Linked DNA regions of Homo sapiens: all the other regions are linked to region 6. Evidence: promoter capture Hi-C in 16 types of primary human blood cells and fetal thymus (Javierre and others, 2016). All regions are on one chromosome and are shown on one strand. The core of a region is centred on a gene start or on the middle of the fragment in contact, and the rest is flanking DNA. Distances in the headings are between cores, read along the strand shown. Region 1 has its middle 12 kb from the start of INSIG1. Region 2 holds the start of LOC105375587 (a long non-coding RNA gene). Region 3 has its middle 65 kb from the start of INSIG1. Region 4 overlaps LOC105375594 (a long non-coding RNA gene). Region 5 overlaps INSIG1 (insulin induced gene 1). Region 6 holds the start of PAXIP1-AS2 (PAXIP1 antisense RNA 2). Region 7 overlaps LINC03010 (long intergenic non-protein coding RNA 3010).

Region 1 (2,700 bases), core at 140-2,639, 360 kb after region 6:
GCATGATCTTGGCTCACTACAACCTCCGTCTCCTGGGTTCAAGCGATTCTCCTGCCTCAGCCTCCCGAGTAGCTGGGATTACAGACGTGCACCATCATGCCCAGCTAATGTTTGTATTTTTAGTAGAGATGGGGTTTCACCATGTTGGCCAGGCTGGTCTCAAATGTCTGACCTCAAGTGATCCACCTGCCTCAGCCTCCCAAAGTGCTGGGATTACAGGCATGAGCCACCTCGCCTGGATGGGCTTTTCTAATATTATTAAATGGCCCAGTGCCTCCGTGTCCAAGCTCCCAGGGAGCCCTGCCCTGGTGTAAGGCAACGGCCCCCCAGCGATCTTGGGTTAAGTGGGAGGAAGCCTGCATGTCCGCAGCAGCCTCCACGTCCTTAGCCCCAGAGATGGCTTTCAGAGGCTTCCGTGTCATCCCTGGGAACCTGGACTGAGGACAGCCAGGCTTGCAGAGGGGTCAGTTCTTCCTGAAAGCAGCTTGCTGAGAGTGGGACAAGAAGTAGTGATAAGTCCTCCAGGTCCCAGCAGGAACCAGAAGTCCCCTGGACCCTCTAAGGAAAGACGCATTAATGAAAAGACTACTTGGAGAGGTGTGGCCAGGGTGAAGGAACAAACAAGGGCTGGTGAGGCAACCAAACACAGGAGACAGAGGAAGTCATTCCCTTCCCCAGGGCTGCAGACCAAGGAAGGAGCCAAGCGGACCCACCTTCCCATCCTCAGGGCTGCAGACTAAGTGGGAAGCTGGGAGGGTCCACCTTGGGAGCAGCTATTGTCCAGGGATGGGGGCACAGCCACTGCTGCAGACAGAGGGCTGGGCAAGGAGGGAGCAGGACGGGCATCCAACCTCCCTCTCTCACCCTCTCAACCTGCTGTCACCACCTGCAGAGGTAGTGGGCCAGCAGGCAGCCTGGGGAGCCAGGCAGGACCCAGAAGGGCAGAGAATGGATCAGGAGACTGAGAGCAAAGGGAGAGAGACCAGCACAGGGGATGAGACCTCTGGGGGACTCACCCTGGGAGAACTCAATCAAGGGACACATTGTTGGATCACCAGGTGACCCAGAAGAGATGAAGGAGATGAGAACAGAGAGAATTCTTGCAATGAAGCTCAGCTCTAGCAAACACTAACCTCCGGAGTGCAGACAGCATGACAGCACACAGATGGAGGCCTGAGAGGGCAGGGAAGAGAGGCCAGAGAATATGCAGAGAAGAAGCTCAAGAAGGACAAAGAAGCCTAATGAAGGACCTGCTGCCTTGTGGATGCCGCTGGAGCTTCCAGCAGCTGAGAGCACAGAGCATTGCACCCAAAGACGATGCCCCTGCCCTCACCCCTCTGCTGTTCTGTCTCCTCTTCATCGCTTTCGCACTCCAACCCCAGGGACTTATGGAACATAGGTCCCGGCAGGACCTAATGTCAAGGAAGAACCAGGCCGATGTCATTTCTGCCTCCTTCCGTATTTTTTTTACTGTGGTAAGTCATATATAACATAAAACTTACCCTTTAATCATGTTCAAGTGCACAGTTCTGTGGCATTACGCACACTCGCATCGTTGTGCCATCGCCACCATCCATCTCCAGACCCTTTTCATCTTCTGAAAGGAAACTCTGTCCCCACCAAACACTCATGCCCCATCCCTCCCCCAGACTCCGGCACCCCCCACTCTCCTGTCCGCCTCTGTGATCTGACGACTCTGGGGACCTCATATGAGTGGAGGAGTCTTTGTCCTTTTGCGACTGGCTGATTTCACTCACCATAACATCCTCCAGTTTCCTCCATCTCCTTCCTGTTTACAGCTGAGTGATATTCTATGGTACGGAAAGGCCCCATCTTGCTCACTCGCCCATTCACCCATCAGTGGACTTTGGGTTATCTCCACCCTTGGCTCTTGTGAATGTTGCTGTGAGGGGCACGGGGGTACCCGTATCTCTTCAAGGCCCTGCACTCAGTTTCTGTGTGCAAACACCCAGAAGTAGACTTGCTGGCTCACATGGTAGTTCTTTTCTTTCTTTTATTTCTTTTCAGAAACCCCCTGTGATGGTTGATACTGAGTGTCAACTGGATTGGATTGAGGGATACAAAGTATTGATCCTGGGTGTGTCTCTGAGGGTGTTGCCAAAGGAGATGAACATTTGAGTCAGTGTGCTGGGAAAGGCAGATCCACCCTCAATCCGGATGGGCTCCATCTAATCAGCTGCCACGGCGGCTAGAATATAAAGCAGGCAGAAAAATGTGAAAACAGACACTGGCTTAGCCTCCCAGACTACATCTTTCTCCCGTGCTGGATGCTTCCTGCTCTTGAACATCAGACTCCAAGTTCTTCTGTTTTGGAACTGGGACTGGCTCTCCTTGCTCCTCAGCCTGCAGACGGCCTATTGTGGGACCCTGTGATTGTGTGAGTTAATACTTAATAAACTCCCCTTCATATATATGTATCTATTCCATTAGTTCTGTCCCTCTGGAGAACCCTGACTAATACACCGCCGTGCTGTTTTCTGGAGCAGCTGCATCATTTCACATTCTCACCAACAGCACACAAGGGTTCCAATCTCTCTACGCCCTCATCAGTGCGTGTTCTTTTCTGGTTTTTGTTTTTACAATACCCATCCTAAAGGGTGTGAAGTGACGACCCACTGTGGTTTTGATTCGCATTTCCCTGCTGACTGGTGAAGCTAAGTGCCTTTCCATGTGCTTGTG
Region 2 (2,700 bases), core at 166-2,665, 320 kb after region 6:
GAAAACATTCTGTTTGTGGACCTGACTTACCGGAGCACATGAGTGAAAGCAGATAGGAATAAGCAGATCACGGCTCAGCTCCGGGTGCGGGGTGGAAATCAGGGTTAACCAGAGGGCAATGGGAGAAAATGATGTGGGGCACTCATTTAAATTATCTGCAGGACTCTGTATCATGAAGATAAACTTATTGCAGCCCTAGCTCATGTTTCCAGAGCAGAGTCCTGAGGAGAAGGAGCACTTACCAAGGACGAATGGGTCACTGCGTGGTCTGCAAATAGCATCTGGAAAACAAGAAGCTGGGACCTTGGAAACAGCAAGAGTCAGAGTTGGTCGGGGAGCTTGCCCTGGACACAGTGGGCTTCAGTCTAGAAGACACCGAAAGACAGAGCGAACTCCCTCCTCCTACAAACTGTTCACACAGTGGGAAGGAGGACGGGGTTTAGCAACACGCTGTCTCAAAAATGTGCACTGTCAGGCAAATATGTGCTTGTAACACCAGCCCTGGAGAGGAAAGTCTCTCTGGGCTTCGGTCCCTAACCTTTACCCTAAACATTAATATATCAATCGGCAGCGGCCCTGGAGAAGTTGCTGATGGCATCAGAGAATGAGGGCATTCACTAAGCTGTCACAGCAGACCCAGATGCAGTGGCGGAATTAATTTTTCCTTCATTAATCATATCCTAATTTGCATGATTAATATGTCATAGTTGATGAACACGGGCGGATACAAATAAAATCACTGAACAAAAATGCCACCTGCTGAGCAAAAAGAATAAGACAAACAAGTGAGTTGGCACAGCTAAATGAGCAGGAGTCACTTTATTTCCCAAAAACAATATTCCAAAAGCTTGAAACAATGCCACTATTGGGGCCGCTTGCCGAGGACTGTGGAGACAGACATTCCCAGAGTTTTCCACGGTGGGATGAGCTCCAGGGTACACACAACTGTCACAGCTTGCCATTGGACAATTCTAAAAACTCACCTTTCGAACCTCGCCTGTTTCCCAAGCGGAACCCAGGCCAAGGGGCGGGATGTTCCAGGACAAAGTGGTGCCACCTCGTCAGCCCAGGCCCACTTCCTCCAGCTACGAACCTCAGCCATTTCTGGCCAGCGGCTCTGGGGCAGAAACTGGGGCAGGGCATTGCCAAGGACACAAGCAAGGGGAGCGGAGGAGGAGAGGAAGCAGGGAGCGACCGTGGAATGGCCTCGGACCTGGGGCAGAGCCTTCGGGATGCTGGAAGCTGCTCAGGGGCCGTGGCTGAGGCCCAGGCAGCCACCAGGGGGGACTCCGACTGGGGTCCAGGGGCAGGCAATGCCCAGCCTCCCTGGAGCGTGGGTTTCCTTCAAGGCCACGTGGCAGAAGCAGCCACAGGAGAAGCAGCGCAGTTTTCCGCAGCGGTGGGAATGTCCTAGACCTGGCACATCCCGACAGTAGTCACTGGCACACGTGGCAGTGGAACACATGAATGTGGCCAGGGCGGCTGAGAAGCAGACATTTTCATTTCATTTTAATTAATTTAAATTGAAAAACCCACGTAGGGCTAGTGGTCCCTGGCGGGCAGCTGAAGGGAGTGTGGGGACCACAGCACTTCCCTGGCTGTGGGACCTGGAGAGGTATTCCTCCTTTGCAGCTCCGTCCTCCTCTGAGGCTGAGGGGTTGGATGGGGGCATCCCTGGAGCCCCCAGTCTGCACTTCCTGACTGGAGTGTGGAAGGCGCCTGCTCTGTTTGTTTCCACTATCCTTCCACAACCTTCACTGTCTCCCTCCCCTCTGCTTACCGAAAACTGCCTCCTGCCAGACTAAGTTCCTGGCCCCTCACTTTCCAGCCGCATCCCCCACGTCTCTACCACGTGAACAGACCCTCAGCCCTCAAACACACCTGTGCCTCCCACACCACCCCGTACCTTGTCTGTGCCATTCCCCATGGCTCTTCCCCACCCACTCAATACTGATGGAGACCCACCTCAAGCCTGATGTTCTGGAAGCTTCCCAGAGCTCCATGGCCCACAGGCTTCTCACTCCCCCACCATTTAGAAGGAACCCAGCCTCTGGCTGTGGTAGCTTGCAGGGCAGTCCTCTTTATCTCACTGTTACTTGATAGCAACAATGTTGCAATGTCTTGGAAACTGTGTAACAACCTGGCAAGGCTGAGCACACCTGCCCACAGAGCGGGGAGGTGCGCAGCCTGTCCTCAACGCCAACTAGCAGGGCGGCCTGAGGAGGTGACTGCATCTCCTCATGGTCTCCTCACCGGAAACATGAGGATCATGCTGCTTCCTTTTGGGGTTCATGTAAGAGCCAGGCGCTCACCTGTGCCAAACGCCCTGCCCGCCCTGGCCTGGGTTCAGGGTTTTCAATCCATGCTGTGCTCCCTAAAAGACAGGCCACTCCTCTGCTCTCCAGCACCTGAGGAAACGTTGTTGCTGGTTGCAGGATTCCTTAGTCTAATCCTAACACCTCAGTGGCTTCATCCTGGCCTCATGCATTGTGCTGGAGCCTGGTTTCTGGTGCAGGAAAGTTGTAAGAATGCGTTCCCTGCCATCTCGTTTCTATTTTGAACTATCTGGCCCAAACCCTTTTCTTTAGTTTTCTCCTCTTCCCTTGGGGAAAAAGAAAAGGAGAAAAAAGGAAAGAAAAGGACAAAAAAGAAATGGAGAAGAGAAGCAAGACAGAGGCTGCTCTGAAATGGTTTCTGCAC
Region 3 (2,700 bases), core at 178-2,677, 300 kb after region 6:
TGGAAAAGGTTAGAAAAGATCCTATCTACCAGGAAAAGAAAGAAAACGTGGACTTAATAAGGTCATTATGCCGAGCAGGGGCTTTGGGAATGTGCTTGATCCCTTCACGGCTCTAGAACAGCTATTCCGCCCCAGACTCCCATCACAAAAACCGCATTCGGGGTCTGTTGCCCGCAGCACCCACAGTTATCCCGCCCCAGACTCCCATCACAAAAACCGCATTTGGCATCTGTTGCCTGCAGCACCCCATGGATCACCACACACGGCTGTTTCTTACATTGGCTCAAGTTTCAGGGATGAGTGTGGGCATGAGTGCCACGGGGAACGAGGTGTGCTCGAGCCTCCTGAGCACTACCTGAAGGAGACAGACCGACCAGTCCTCCCAGGTTTCCGTCTCGGCAGCGGCCGTCCATCCGGCTGGCCCGTCCATGCCCATGCCCATGCCCATGCCCATGTACTGGCGATTCCAAAGCTTCATTTTACGTGAAAATCACAGGGGAAAAGTGCAGCTTCCCTGGCCCCTGTTACCAGGGACTCTGATTCTGAGGGACCAGACTGGGAGTAGGTTCCTTCCTTAACAAGTCCTCCGGGATTCAGACGCTGGTGGCCCAGAGGCCACCCAAGAGACACTGCCGGGAGCCGGGCGGGTTCCCCCACATGGCAGGCCAGAGGTCTCACTCTGCACACATCTCTCCTTTCTGCTGTTAGAGTCATTCTTTTGTGGAAACAGCGGCCTGGGCTGGTCCCCATCACTGAGACAGAATCCATAGGCTCAGATGAGGCCTAAACAATGATACACCAGTCTCATCCACTCCACAGCACCGAATTTTCTGAGATTTAACGAGAGCCGACTCACTGGGAATATCTCCGGAGCAAGGAATTAAACGCCTGACCAGAGCCTCAAAGTGGAGGACAGAGGCCTCCACCCCTGGCTGCCCACTGCAGCTGCTTCGGCCAAGTCATGCGACATTTCTGTCTTGACCAGTGGAAACCCATGCAGTTGTTCCCTGTGGTCGAGGGAACAATGGCCCCAGAGACATCCACGTCTGGATCCCTGGAATGCGAGCCTGTGTCAGGTTCCATGGCAGAGGATGATGGTTGCTCATCGGTGGCCTTGAGACGAGAGATTCTCCTGGATCATCCAGTGGGTGAATGTCATCCCAGGTGCTTCTGGTGAGGAGGAAGGGAGAGGAGTCGGAGGAAGGGCTGCGCTGCCAGATACAGTCAGAGAGATGCTGCTGCAGCTGCAAGACAGAAGGGCCCAAGCCCAGTGAGGTGGCCATCCTCCAACCTGGAAAAGGCAAGAAAACGGGGGCTCCCCTGGAGTCCCCAGAAGGATGCAGTGTGCTGACACCTGGCCGTAGCCCAGTGAGACCCGTAGTGGACCTTTGAACCACAGAACTCTCGGATAATAAATTTGTGTTGTCTTAAGCCATTAAGTTTGTGGTAATTTACCATAATAGCAGCAAAAGAAAACTCCCACAGCCCTTGCCCACTTGAGGACCTGCTGCAAAGCTGGGAAGAGGAAGGAGGCAGGAGGCTTCGCTCCGTCCGTCCTTTCTGTTTTAGGGCCTGCACATTTTGTTGTTCCTTCTTGATTTCTATCCTTAATGATCACAGTGATTTGGGGTAATATGAGCATCAAAGTGCTTTTTTGCTGAAGACCTGTTTGCTTGTTGCCAGTTTTATAGTGACCCAATAGAATAAGACCAGTAAATTTATTGATGGCAGAAATTAGCCATGTCCTTAAACGCTTTCACAGGGCAGACAGAGACGTCTTAGTCTTCGTGGTGGAGTTGAGACCGAGGCAGTATCTTCAAAGGTGTATTAAGGTGCCTTTGTTGTCGGCTTTCAACGCCTCCTTTGAAGGACTCGCTCACTTCCCCGGCAGGTGAGTAAGCAGCTCACAGGGACCCCGTGAGCAAAGCCTGCAAGGGGCAGAGCCAGGCTGCAAACCCAGGCCCTGCACACGGCTCTCACGCTTCTGTCACACCACACCCAGAGCATCAGTGCCTCTAATCAACCAACATTTCAGTTCCTACGGTTCAAAATGGGCCTTACAGGACTTCAAAGCATCGATAATTCAGACATTTGCTTGGTAAATCCTCTATCATGGAATATGATGAAGGCAACTTCAGATCAACAAACTGGTGTCTGAATTATCACACATTCTGAAATCAGAGACGTCCAGTGAAAAGAGATTTGTCTAGTAAAAGTAATTCCAGATGTGTAACCCAAAGGACTCGTCTAGGAAGTTCCAGTGGGAAGGACTTTGCTGCTCTCCAGCACGAGTTATTTTCTCCCAGGACTTTTTCAGCCTGCCAGCCGTACACTTCCCAGACATTTCACCAAATGAAGAGAGAAAGGAAAACAAACAAACGAAAAGCTTTCTTTAAGTAGCTTTGAACTTTGCACTAGACAGATCCAAATTCATTGGCTTCTGCACTAAAGCTGTCTCCAAGACATCCCTGTTAGGTTCGTAACTAAATCGCCCACTAATATTTATGCTCTGTCTTAAACAAAGGAAATAGGAGCTGTTGTCAAGGACACGGTGGGGCAGGCAAGGCGAGCCGGTTTCTGGTGCAGACACAGCCCAGAGACAAGCTTCAAAAGGACAGCTCTGCCTGGGCCCTCAGAGACGCGCAGCTGCGTCAGCGTGGACTCTGGGTGGTGCCGGATTGTGGATAATTTGAGGGAATG
Region 4 (2,700 bases), core at 147-2,646, 490 kb after region 6:
CTGTGTGAGAGAACTGTTGCCCACATTCTCACCAGACAGGCGTATGGTTCTTTGTTCTTTTCTCAACTCTTTCTAAGGAAAATCTCAAACATACACAAAAGTCCAGAGAACAGAACAACGAACCATACTCACCACCCAGCTGCGACCACCATCAGCTTTTACTAATTGTATTGCATCTGTTTCCCTGGCCATTTTCTGGAACATATTTAGAACAAATCCCTGCCAAACATTATGGTATTTCACCAACAGACACCCATACGCATTTCTAAGGCACCAAGAGTTTTTAGCAACCTAGGTGCAATCCCGTTAATTCCTCAATATCAGCAAAGGCCACAAGGCTTCTGCTAGTGAGTGTTAGGCTGTGGAGCACTTCAGTAGGCCTCAATTCCATCTCCCTCTTTGCTAGCGTGGTGGGACCACCTTCAGACCTTTGCTTTTGAGGTAGGAGGTGGGACCTGAGTCCAGAGGCGGGGCTCTTGGACACAGGACCAAATTGAAGACTAGCTGAAACAGGGAGGGGCAGAAAACCAGTGTGCCATGTCAGTTTACCATTGTCACGGCAATACCCGGAGTACCACCCCTTCAATAACCTGACAACCCGGAAGTTACCACCCTTTTCCTAAAAGTTCTGCATAAACCACCCCTAATTTGCATATAATTAAAAGTGGACCTAAACATGACTGCAGACCTGCCGCTAAGCTGCTACCCTGGGCGCACTGCCTATGGGGGAGCCCTGCTTTACCAAGAGCAGTCCCTCCGTTGCCGCCGCTGTGCACGGGGCTTCCACAAAAGCTTCTGCCTCACACCCCTGGCCCGCCCTGGAGTTCTTCCCTCCTGGGCAAGCCCCGATTTTGGTGTTTGCCTGTCCTGCATCGCTTTCATCTGGATTTCCTCCCATGTGAAATTAGCTGTGCAGATCCTTCCCTTTTTTTTTTTTCTATTGAATCATTTTCCTCTTATCAATACGTATGTTCTCTTTCTATATGAAGTTATATGCAGATTCAGAAGAGAAGGCTTCAGGCAAGTTCCTTCTCCAGCCCCTGCTCCCATCTCTCTCTTCCCTGTTTCTCTGGCCCTTGCTCTCATCTCTCTCTGCCCTGCTTGGAGGCATCCAGCCTTCTTCACCACAGGGAACATGGAGCTCAAAAGATAACACACACCTTAATGCTGTTGACAGCTGCCCCAGTGGCAAAGGGACATGTTTTCATCACCTACACCTTGTTTGGCCAGTTAGAGGGCTGTGTTTCTCAGAGTCAGGAAGTCCTGGGCCAGGTGGAGGAAAGAAATGGCGCAGCCACCTCTGGCCTCCTCCTGCTCCTCCTGGATCTGGGAGATGGCGCCCAGCCAAGCCCTCCATGCCCTGCCCGTGAGTGGGATGTCTGACTGCTCTCACCGTCTCTCCTTCTCCCCTTAACCCCAGGCCCAACCCCTCCGGGCTCACTGCTTGTGGTTTTTCTGCTTAGGAATTGGTCCCTGGGTGTAGCCCAGGCTTGTAGGGCCCCGTCCTCCCCAGCCCTGCTCCCCACTGTTCAGGGGCAGCCCCCCCACTCCTCCCACCTGCCGTGGCTCTTTGCTGCACCCTCCCTGGCCCAGTCTTGGCATTCGCCCTTATCAGTTCTCCGTCTTCTTTGAAGCTGAGACAGAGTATTGTCCCCCACTTGCTTGCAGATGCTAAGATGGAGTTTAGAGCACAGGATATTGATCAGGGACCCATGCCTGGGAAAGGGGCAGAGAGAGAAGCCCAGCAAGATGCACCCTGGCCCAGCCTCGGCACCCCCAGGGAGCCCTGGGCTGTGGGGCCTGTTAGAGTTGCTGCAGGTGGGCGGGAAGGGCTGGGCATTCATACCCCCCACAGCTGGTCCCGGGTAAGGTGACCATCTGCAGCTGAGGCAGCCTGAAGGAGGGACAGCTGGAGGTATCTGAGGCTGCTCTCCCAATGCTGGAGGGCAGGGCCTTCCCTGGAGGGATCCGAAGGGGCATTTCCATGCCCAGCTCATACAGGAAGCTTATTGGAGCCTCACATCTGGAAAGCACTACAGACCGCACCGCAGACCGCACGACAGACCGCACCGCAGACCGCTCTACAGACCGGCACATGCGCAACCCTGCCCGGCTGCTCTCCCTCCCTGCCTGGCTGCTCTCCCTCCCTGCCCAGCTGCTTTCTCTCCCTGCTGTGACCAGGCCATTTTGGTGCATTATCTGTGCTCAGCGCTTTCCTCCTCTATTTGATGACTTTTCCAGGCAGTGGGCCTGGGGGTGAAGTCCCCTTGACCTTTGGGCTCCACCCAGGCACCTGGAGCCCCTGGGCTCTTCCCCTGCAGGGAACTGTTAGCATCCTGCACTTTGCCCTCCTCCCATCCTGCCCACGGGAGATGCAGCGTGAACTCCTAGTCCTCAAAAAGGCTTAAAAATTGCTCTACATTTTATGTTTAACGTGTGGTTATGTTAAAAAATTCATAACTAATGACTTGAGGCTTTGTTCTTCTCCGTACTCCACCGGTGAGTCCCTGTGGAGCTGGGCACGTCCCTTGATTTATCTTGGTTTCAGTCTCCTCCTCTGTGAGGAGGTGGAGGAAGGAGCGCTTCTCTTCCAACGCAGGGAGTCACCCATGGGACAGTCTCTGGTCTGTGCACCTGGCTGCTGAGGAGGGAGCAGGAGGGCTGTGGAGGGTCTTCTCCAAGGCCCCAGAACCATGTGAT
Region 5 (2,700 bases), core at 61-2,560, 370 kb after region 6:
GAATATAAAATCACTCTGAAGTTATAGCTGATAATTTTTTCTAGGAAAAGGACTGGTTTGAGTAATGTACTGTGTTACTAATGACCACGTTGAAATTCTGGAACTTGAATCTGCTGTATTCTAACATTGTCAACTTTTTTAAAACAGCTGTTGTTGGCCTACTGTACCCCTGTATCGACAGTCACCTCGGAGAACCCCACAAATTTAAGAGAGAATGGGCCAGTGTCATGCGCTGCATAGCAGTTTTTGTTGGCATTAACCACGCCAGTGCTGTATCCTTAATTTTCTGTGCTACGTCCAGAGTATCTTCTTAGGTTATATATTGAAGCGTTTTGTTTTGTTATATACTCAAATGACTCCATGTCATAATACAGACATGATGGTGGTACCTACCCATTTCAGATTACTAAAAAGAGAAAGAAGAATGGGGCTATCGATGACTTCATAGTAAAATATATTGTTTTATGGTCAAAATAAATATATATTTATTTATATTTTTATATATATTATATATATTTTTAAATATATATAATATATATAATAAATATATATTTATATAAATATATATAAGCACTTTATATATAGCTTTCAGCAAGTTTATTCTTATGGTTAAGTTTTTGACTCAGTGATGGCAGGGAGATTTCAGGTGATCTTAATGATTACTGTAACCTGTATCCAACAAATCCTTTCTTTAGCTTATTACACAGTTTTTATGGACAGTGAATTATCTGTGGTACAATAATAAAATACCCATGTTTTTAACCCTTGTGGTTTTACGTTTTTTTATCTTAATAAGAGTCAGCAAACTTTTCCTTAACTTTTATATCACCAGAAATTGGATTTTGCCAATAATGTCCAGCTGTCCTTGACTTTAGCAGCCCTATCTTTGGGCCTTTGGTGGACATTTGATCGTTCCAGAAGTGGCCTTGGGCTGGGGATCACCATAGCTTTTCTAGCTACGCTGATCACGCAGTTTCTCGTGTATAATGGTGTCTATCAGTAAGTGTGTGTTTTCAAATATTGGCTTTGGAAAGCTTACTTAACTTTCATTAAAACATCCACTAAGCTTAGATATTTTCATATTTTATTTGTTTTTTATATAGAATGATACAGATTTAGGCATGAAATTCTCAAAAATGCTGCTATCCATAACTTAATGTAACGCAAAGGAAAACCAAGTAGTAGCAGTTACAACCAAACAAATATGAACATTCGTAACATTGGATGGTTGATATGCGTTCTGCATATCCCCACTACAGAGAATCTGTGATGTAGAATTGAGCCAGGTGAAATTGACTGCTAAGGTACAGTTTCTTTTCTCGCTCCAGGTATACATCCCCAGATTTCCTCTATATTCGTTCTTGGCTCCCTTGTATATTTTTCTCAGGAGGCGTCACGGTGGGGAACATAGGACGACAGTTAGCTATGGTAAGTGAAATGATCATATTATCTTCTAAAACTTGCGTCTCTTTACCTTGATAGAATGACTTTACATGATACATTCAAATTTGCGTTCATATATTCTGGTTCAGACTTGAGTGACAACTACTGAGAAAAGCTTATATTTAAAAAAATAGGTAATGATACCCAGGTAATTCTTTGCTAAATTATAAAAATTCATAATATTTGATCTAGAAAAGGAACTAGAGCCCTCGCACTGCCCCTTTGAATTGCAGATGTGGTCAGTGTTCTGAATTCTTGAAATTTCTGTAGTAAGCAGTAGAGAAAGTGACTGGTGTGTGAGTGTCCCCTCCTCCTTCACCATCGGAAGCAGATCTGGATGACCTCATGCAGTGATACTTTGCTCCCTGAGCATCAGTCCACCAGTGTTTCTTTTCACAAAATCAGAGTGGATGCAGATGATGCTGGCCTCTTAGTCCACAGTCAAGCAAATCGAGCCTGAGGCTGCAGAGTCTGTCTCGGGCCAGGGCAGGGACTAATGTGGGTGGGCAAGGGGACAGCCTGGTTCAGGCAGGCAGCACCTTTCTGTGGGGCAGGTGGCCCTGGGCATGGAGAAGTGGTGATGAGAGCACCGCTGCACGTGGCCGGGTCACCATGTAGACGGACTGTCCTGCCTGAACATTGCATCTGTTCTCAGCTGCAGGAGAAAGCAGTGCTACCCCGCAGAGCTTCTCTCACAGCCCCCCTGAGGGAGACGGAAAGGTAGTGAACTCCAGGATGGCTTTAGCAGTTCTCATTAGTTAAAAATTGACATCTTAGCACTTCAATTTAAAAACATAGAGGTGGACTTTTAAATGTTATTTTGAGTTGACTTTGGCAGGCTGAAAGAAAGTAAATTAAAAAAAACAACAAAAACCTAGAGCTGTTGCTCTCGGAGATAAGCTCTGGGAAAACTTATCTTAGTACCTCATGCTATTTTTAAAACAGTACATTTATTTTTGCCAGCTGATACCCTTCTGTGAGGAGTTGAATTTGAAGACCACTTGGCTGTTTCACAAAACCAGAAGTAATTACAGGTAGAATTTGCAGTCTTCCACTGGTTACTGACTCTCTGCTGCCAAATTTCTCATGATGGAGAAGAAAGGACTTTGCTTGCCTTTTTTTTTTTTTTTTTTTTTTGAGACAGAGCTCTGGAGTGCAGTGGTGCCATCATAGCTCACTGTAACCTTGAGCTCCCGGACTCAAGCAATCCTCCCGCTTCAGCGTCCCGAGTAGCTGGGATTACAGGCACATGCCACC
Region 6 (2,700 bases), core at 201-2,700:
TTCTGAACATTTATGAAGATCCCTAACAGATTTCTCCAGTGAGCTTTGTCTAGCCAGCCTTTAGCTTTAATTTTTGCTACTAACATGTGAATCTGTTGCTAGAAGTCAGAATAACTAGGGTCATAAGCTTGGATATTTAATTCAAATTTCCTAGCAAAACCAATAGGAACCTGGTGAAGATCAAGGAATTCTTTTAACTATGCCTGTAAGTTTGATCATGATTGATAAAGCAGGTTCCCCTCTACCAGATGCTGGATGAAATGGAGCCAAACCAGTGGGAGCAGGAGGAGGGGCAGGAGGAGGAGGAGGAGAAGGTCAATCAGGGCTGGGTAGTTCTGACAAGGAGGCTTAGAGAGACAGGGGAGCAGGGAGAGAAGAAGACATTTCAGTGTTTTTTAAAATTCAGTAATGGTTTTAGAGTGCTTTTTATTTTCTTCCTCTAAGGGAAGAATTCTGTCAAAACCTCTTTTGGATGCTTCTGGGTGCCATTGGAAGTAACTCTCTTAATTATTTTATTTGATTCCATAGCTGGCTTTTTAAAATTGTGCATATAAATAAACTAATCTAGCTATTTCAAAGATAATTCTCTTTGATCATTGTAATTTAGGATCTTCTTAGGTCAAATAAGACCATTTCTCCAACTATCGACAGGAGGTGGCGCCATAAGTCTTGTACATAAACCCCGCTGGAGTTTCCAAAGGTGCATTGCTTAATGAGGGCTTGGTTATAGATGGATAATTGCTCATAATTTGGATTCTCTTTTAAAATGCCCAAAGGCTAAAAGGGAAAAGTGTTTGGGGTCCAGTGTGCTGCTTAGTAGGGATTATTCCTGGAGGTATCACCTACAAGTAGCTTCTTCCCTCTTACCTACCTCAGAGAAACCCAGACATTTCTGGGAGTTCAAGGCACTGGGTGACGAACCCCTTGTGTGTTGTGTGCCCCGGGGGTTAAGCAGCTCTCCCTGTGAGTTCTTCTCTGGGGTTTGTTGTGAGCTTCCACACCCTTGTGTTACCTCCATTGCCTAAGGTGCCTTTCAGCTGGGAGAAAGAGTCCTTTTTGTCTTCAGCTTATCACGTCCTCATTCCAACCTTTTACAAATTTTGGGTGACTCAGGAAGAAACTTTAAATCTCAATGTTAACCAAGATCCAAAGCCTGGCTGGTTTAAAGCCACAAATTTGGCTTAAGCCACAAACATTCACTTTCTCCTTTTACAAAGAAAACTGCTTTCTCTTTAACCAAATGTCAAATGAGAGAAAAGGTTACAAACTTGAGCAAGTAAAAAAATGTCCAATGAGAGAAAAGGTTACAAACTTGAGCAAGTAAAATGTCCAATGAGAGAAAAGGTTACAAAAGAGCAAGTAAGACGAACGAAAACTTAACCTAATAGAAAAGTGAAACCACAAACCTGCCAATAGCAGAATCTTTAGAGAAATGACGCGAAACTCCTGCCTTAAAGCCCTAAATGGCGGCTTCAATATCAGTCCCACTGAGCATGAAATTCATTTACTTAAATAAAATCTGAATCTCAGCCCAAACCTGGGAGATTCAAAACCTGAGAGCGGTCTTACCAAAGACGCCCGTATGTCTGGTGAAGTCAGTTGGATGCAAGCAGTTTGTGCTGGTACCAGGGCCCCAGCTACTGATGAAGTGGCAGGAGTCCACAGAAGCCTACTTCGAAGTTCCCGGGGCTTCCAGGGGAGGTGAGAACACAAGTGATGGGAGAGCCTGGGGAGGGACTGTCTGGTGAGTAAAGGTTGTGCTGCTCTGTGGATGAAATGTCTCTGAGGTCGTAAACATCTCAGAGCCGCCTTCGGGAGAACGGGTGATAGTCATCTGGGCTGATGTCACCTCCAGTGTCCTCTCCTGTGATCTGTGTTAATCCTCCCAGATTGACGAGATTCCTGGGGAGGCGATTCATGACAGCTGAGTTCCTTTTGGAGGATCCGTCTTCAGGCAGGTAAGGGGAGCTCAGAGGAAACCTCTGCCTGCATCCGCTGATTCCCAAGTGCCCTCAGCTCACAGGGATCAGCACTCCCAAGTGCCATGGGGGTGGCATTTCCTGAACTCCTTCAAAGCAATAACAACAGGCTGGGCGTGGTGGCTTACGCCTGTAATCCCAGCACTTTAGGAGGCTGAAGTGTGAGGATTGCTTGAAGCCAGGAGTTCAAGACCAGCCTGGGCAACATAGGGAAACCCTGTCTCTACAAAGAATTAAAAGAAAACTTAGCCAGGAATGGCAGTGCACACATGTGGCCCCGCCTACTCGGGAGACTGAGGTGGGAGGAGTGCTTGAGCCAGGTGGTTGAGGCTGCAGGGAGCTGTGATTGCACCACTGCACTCCAGCCTGGGCAACAGAGTGAGACTCTATCTCAAAACAAACAAACAACAACAACAAAAGTGAAACAATAACAACAACTTTTACAAAACGGACATTTGGGATCTACATGCCACACTCCTAAATGCGTCTCTTAAGCAACAGGTGTCACAGTCTTAAACCTTGTCCTTACCCTCTTCATTCTAGGCACCTGTTTCATTCCAGGTAGGGCTTCCTCCTGGTTTCCTAACACAGCGGGTTGAGATGAACAGCAGAGAAGGACACTGCACACCTCTGCAGGGTCTCCCCTCTGGCCCACCAGCCCTCCCTTCTCCAGCAGTGAAGACCTCACTATGTCATCCAGGCAGGAATAATATAGACAGAA
Region 7 (2,700 bases), core at 196-2,695, 460 kb after region 6:
AGAAGAAAAGCATAATGCATTTATCTCCCAATTTCATTAAAATATGAGCGTGACACCCTGTGTACAAGGGTTGTATACTAACCTAATGCTGGCGTGGCTGAGAGTTCACAGTTCACGTAACTGAGCTCAAAATCCTACCGTCTTGAAAGGGTCCGTGCCTGCTGGAGTCTAAGATGTCGGAGAGCTGGTTTCAATATGCACAGGCTGGGAGGCAGGATTAATAATGCATCCTCCTTCACAACCACAGGTTCTACAGCTGTGGATAATATTGCAGAGAAAGCGTAGCCAGTGCAGTCCCTGAAGCCAACATGTGAACGGCCTGGAGTCAAACGTTTAAGGAGCCTAAGCTCGAAATGGCGATGAGTTCAGAAAATGTGCAGTCATTCAATACCCAAATGCTTCTTTCCTTTTCTATGTTCGTATTAGACCTCGTGATAAATTGAGGGAGTTAAAGCAGTCCATTTATTTTAGGTGGGCCCAGCCCAGTTATGAACATGTTGAGACCTAGGAGGCCAAGAGGACCCACCTAAAACCCTCCCCCATTAAGGGCTGATGTGGTACCCCTGCAAACCCACTCCCTCGGGGCAGGAGATGCCTTCTCTGCAGAGTCCTGTTTCTGAAATCTGTGCAGTGTGTCCAGGTGAGTGAAGATCAGGACACCGTGAGGGAGAGCTGGGGGTACCCAGAGCTCTGCACAGGGGTGGGGAGGATGGCCAGAGCGGTCCCAGGTTGGAGATACGTGAGGAGAGCCGTGAGCCTCCTTGCTGCCCAGGGCCCCGTGTCCAGCCCACCTGCAGGGAACAGACCTCAGCCTCGCTTCCCCCTGTGGGGCCCATGTCCATGAGGGTTTGACCCTATAGACAGAATACTCTCAGATTGCAGCTTTCAAAAGTCAGCGCACTTTCTAAAGGGCTCCCCAAATGGGAAATTAGAGTACTGTGTAATTCTGTAAGGTTTCTGGAATTTCCATCCTAAGCATTGGAAAAAAGGGTAAAAATCCAAAAAGTCAAAAGAAAAGAGCCATTTACCATTGCTCAGAAGAAACAGTATAAAATATGTGCATTTGTTTTTCATGGAAAGTATGAAAAACCAGTTATGTGTTGCTTTAGGAATTGGGCTGGGCTTTGAAAGATGGAAAAGACAATTTAAAATTCAATTTTAAATTAGTGATGCTTTCTCTGGAATCTCCATTTTGTACCAATAGCCCTAGCAGCACGAGATCAAATTTTCCTCAGATATCAACCAAATGGCTTTCCTCGGAAGCTCAGGGGCGACCCACAGAGCGAGGGAGGGCCTTCTCCTGCCACCTCACCAGCGCAGTCAGAACTGATGTTTCTATCAGATGCCAGGCGTTTTGCTGCTGTCTTTGGTGACAACGATGGAAATGCCATTTTGCACAGACCGGGTTTGAAAGACCTTTTCCAGACTTGCTTTGGGAAAAGCACGGTTTTGCACTGAGATGGGTGATCTTTAGATGATACCTGGAAGGAATCCCTGGGGATTCTTTGCGGTGTGGCTCTGCCTGCGGATAGATGTCCCAGGAGCCATTGAAAGGTGGCCGGCCATTTCTCATTTCCCCCCATGATGGACTTTGCCCGGCGTTCCATAACGGCGCAGGCTTACCCACCGGGCCAACTTCAACCTTTCTACCCAAAGCACCAACACTGAGCCTGTGTCTGGTCTTTGTGTGAAACACTTTCTTCCTAAGTAATCCTAGGGAGGAGGAGAACCCGGGACCAGGAGAGAGGTGCTGAGAAGCAGGCCCGGCTTCCCACCTGCCTGCAGGGCCTCTGCATGCTGGGGACTCGGGTGACTGGGTACGCAGGTGCCTCCCGCCATCCTTGCTTGGCGGTGCTCACTAGGCAGGTTTCTTTCTGAAGGTGTCTTCTGGGAACAATAGCGTGGGGTTTTTTCTTCACATGGCTGGGAATGGCATTGTCTGGAAGAGGAGGACTAGGGCAGGTTCCAGGGGCAGGCGTTACCCTGAGCAAACACTATTTTCTGCTGTGAGTATTTTGGCTCCAGTGAATCAGTGTGTGAATGCTCAGCAGTCCCACATCAGAAAGCCAGCAGCTGCAGAGCACTCATCCACAGGCGCGGACAAAGAGGCTGCGATCTCATCCACTTTGCAGAGGACGGTGAAATGGTGACTTACCCCAACCTGCATCTCTTCCTGTTCTCCAGGCCCATTGTTCCTCCAGCCACGTTTCTGAATTTACAATATTTAATTGCAGCTTCACGAAAAAATAATCCCTGCTTAAGGATGTTCTAACAATGGCATGCCAGGGAGCCGGCTCATAATCACACAAGGTAGTGAGTGGCCTTGTGTGACTGCTGAGCAGAGGGCCTGGGCAACCTCTGAGGGTTCCTCCTGCCCCAGGGACCAGCAGGACAGATAAAAACCCTCTCGGAAGGGATTTGCACTCACAAATGTGAAATCATGTGGGTTAGCCCTGGGGACAGCTGCTGCCACCCTCGGCTTCATCCAGAGTTCTGTGACTTTCAGCCACCATGGACCAGCCAGGCATATCAGAACTTAGTAGTCACTCACCACATGAGGTCTGCAGTGAGTCACCTGGGCTCATCATCAAATACAGGACAAGAGGAGGAAACAGACCTGCCACCTAACCCTTCCAATGTGTCACCCCTCTACCCCATCCCTGCCATGTGAAGGGAAAAGAGTCAGTAATAATGTTGGGT

The links. The method cuts DNA at HindIII sites, captures the fragments that hold promoters and counts their contacts. A CHiCAGO score of 5 or more calls a contact.
Region 1: a contact is called between a fragment that was not itself captured here and the fragment with the promoter of PAXIP1-AS2 in region 6, in 11 of 17 cell types (naive B cells, total B cells, total CD8 T cells and 8 more). The highest score is 11.0, in naive B cells.
Region 2: a fragment that was not itself captured here is called in contact with the fragment with the promoter of PAXIP1-AS2 in region 6 in 4 of 17 cell types (total CD8 T cells, activated CD4 T cells, total B cells and 1 more); the score reaches 6.8 in total CD8 T cells.
Region 3: a fragment that was not itself captured here is called in contact with the fragment with the promoter of PAXIP1-AS2 in region 6 in 2 of 17 cell types (activated CD4 T cells and neutrophils); the score reaches 5.8 in activated CD4 T cells.
Region 4: a fragment that was not itself captured here is called in contact with the fragment with the promoter of PAXIP1-AS2 in region 6 in 1 of 17 cell types (megakaryocytes); the score reaches 5.1 in megakaryocytes.
Region 5: a contact is called between a fragment that was not itself captured here and the fragment with the promoter of PAXIP1-AS2 in region 6, in 16 of 17 cell types (naive CD4 T cells, total CD4 T cells, total B cells and 13 more). The highest score is 20.5, in naive CD4 T cells.
Region 7: a fragment that was not itself captured here is called in contact with the fragment with the promoter of PAXIP1-AS2 in region 6 in 4 of 17 cell types (neutrophils, naive B cells, activated CD4 T cells and 1 more); the score reaches 9.5 in neutrophils.

Annotation. Positions count from the first base shown.
Region 1 is chr7:155,284,286-155,286,985 of GRCh38, forward strand. No RefSeq gene overlaps it. Among named protein-coding and RNA genes, the nearest start is that of INSIG1, 12 kb to the right of the region's middle. The HindIII fragment of the contact is 3,692 bases long and covers 1-2,700 here.
Region 2 is chr7:155,252,051-155,254,750 of GRCh38, forward strand. It overlaps LOC105375587 (a long non-coding RNA gene), which reads right to left and starts at 2,056. Exons shown (of 5, transcript XR_001745437.2): 1 at 1,966-2,056; 2 at 1-1,482. The HindIII fragment of the contact is 1,140 bases long and covers 846-1,985 here.
Region 3 is chr7:155,231,149-155,233,848 of GRCh38, forward strand. No RefSeq gene overlaps it. Among named protein-coding and RNA genes, the nearest start is that of INSIG1, 65 kb to the right of the region's middle. The HindIII fragment of the contact is 1,914 bases long and covers 471-2,384 here.
Region 4 is chr7:155,416,404-155,419,103 of GRCh38, forward strand. LOC105375594 (a long non-coding RNA gene) reads left to right here. Exons shown (of 4, transcript XR_928239.3): 4 at 1,993-2,426. Among named protein-coding and RNA genes, the nearest start is that of LINC03010, 36 kb to the left of the region's middle. The HindIII fragment of the contact is 1,213 bases long and covers 791-2,003 here.
Region 5 is chr7:155,301,419-155,304,118 of GRCh38, forward strand. It overlaps INSIG1 (insulin induced gene 1), which reads left to right. Exons shown (of 6, transcript NM_005542.6): 3 at 148-272; 4 at 833-999; 5 at 1,329-1,428. Among named protein-coding and RNA genes, the nearest start is that of INSIG1-DT, 3.8 kb to the left of the region's middle. The HindIII fragment of the contact is 492 bases long and covers 1,065-1,556 here.
Region 6 is chr7:154,927,067-154,929,766 of GRCh38, forward strand. PAXIP1-AS2 (PAXIP1 antisense RNA 2) reads left to right here and starts at 1,451. Exons shown (of 8, transcript NR_024476.1): 1 at 1,451-1,701; 2 at 1,890-1,958. RefSeq lists enhancers at 1,532-1,591, 1,612-1,711, 1,862-2,081. The HindIII fragment of the contact is 7,419 bases long and covers 126-2,700 here.
Region 7 is chr7:155,390,849-155,393,548 of GRCh38, forward strand. The region is part of intron 1 of LINC03010 (long intergenic non-protein coding RNA 3010); the gene reads left to right. Among named protein-coding and RNA genes, the nearest start is that of LINC03010, 10 kb to the left of the region's middle. The HindIII fragment of the contact is 4,739 bases long and covers 1-2,700 here.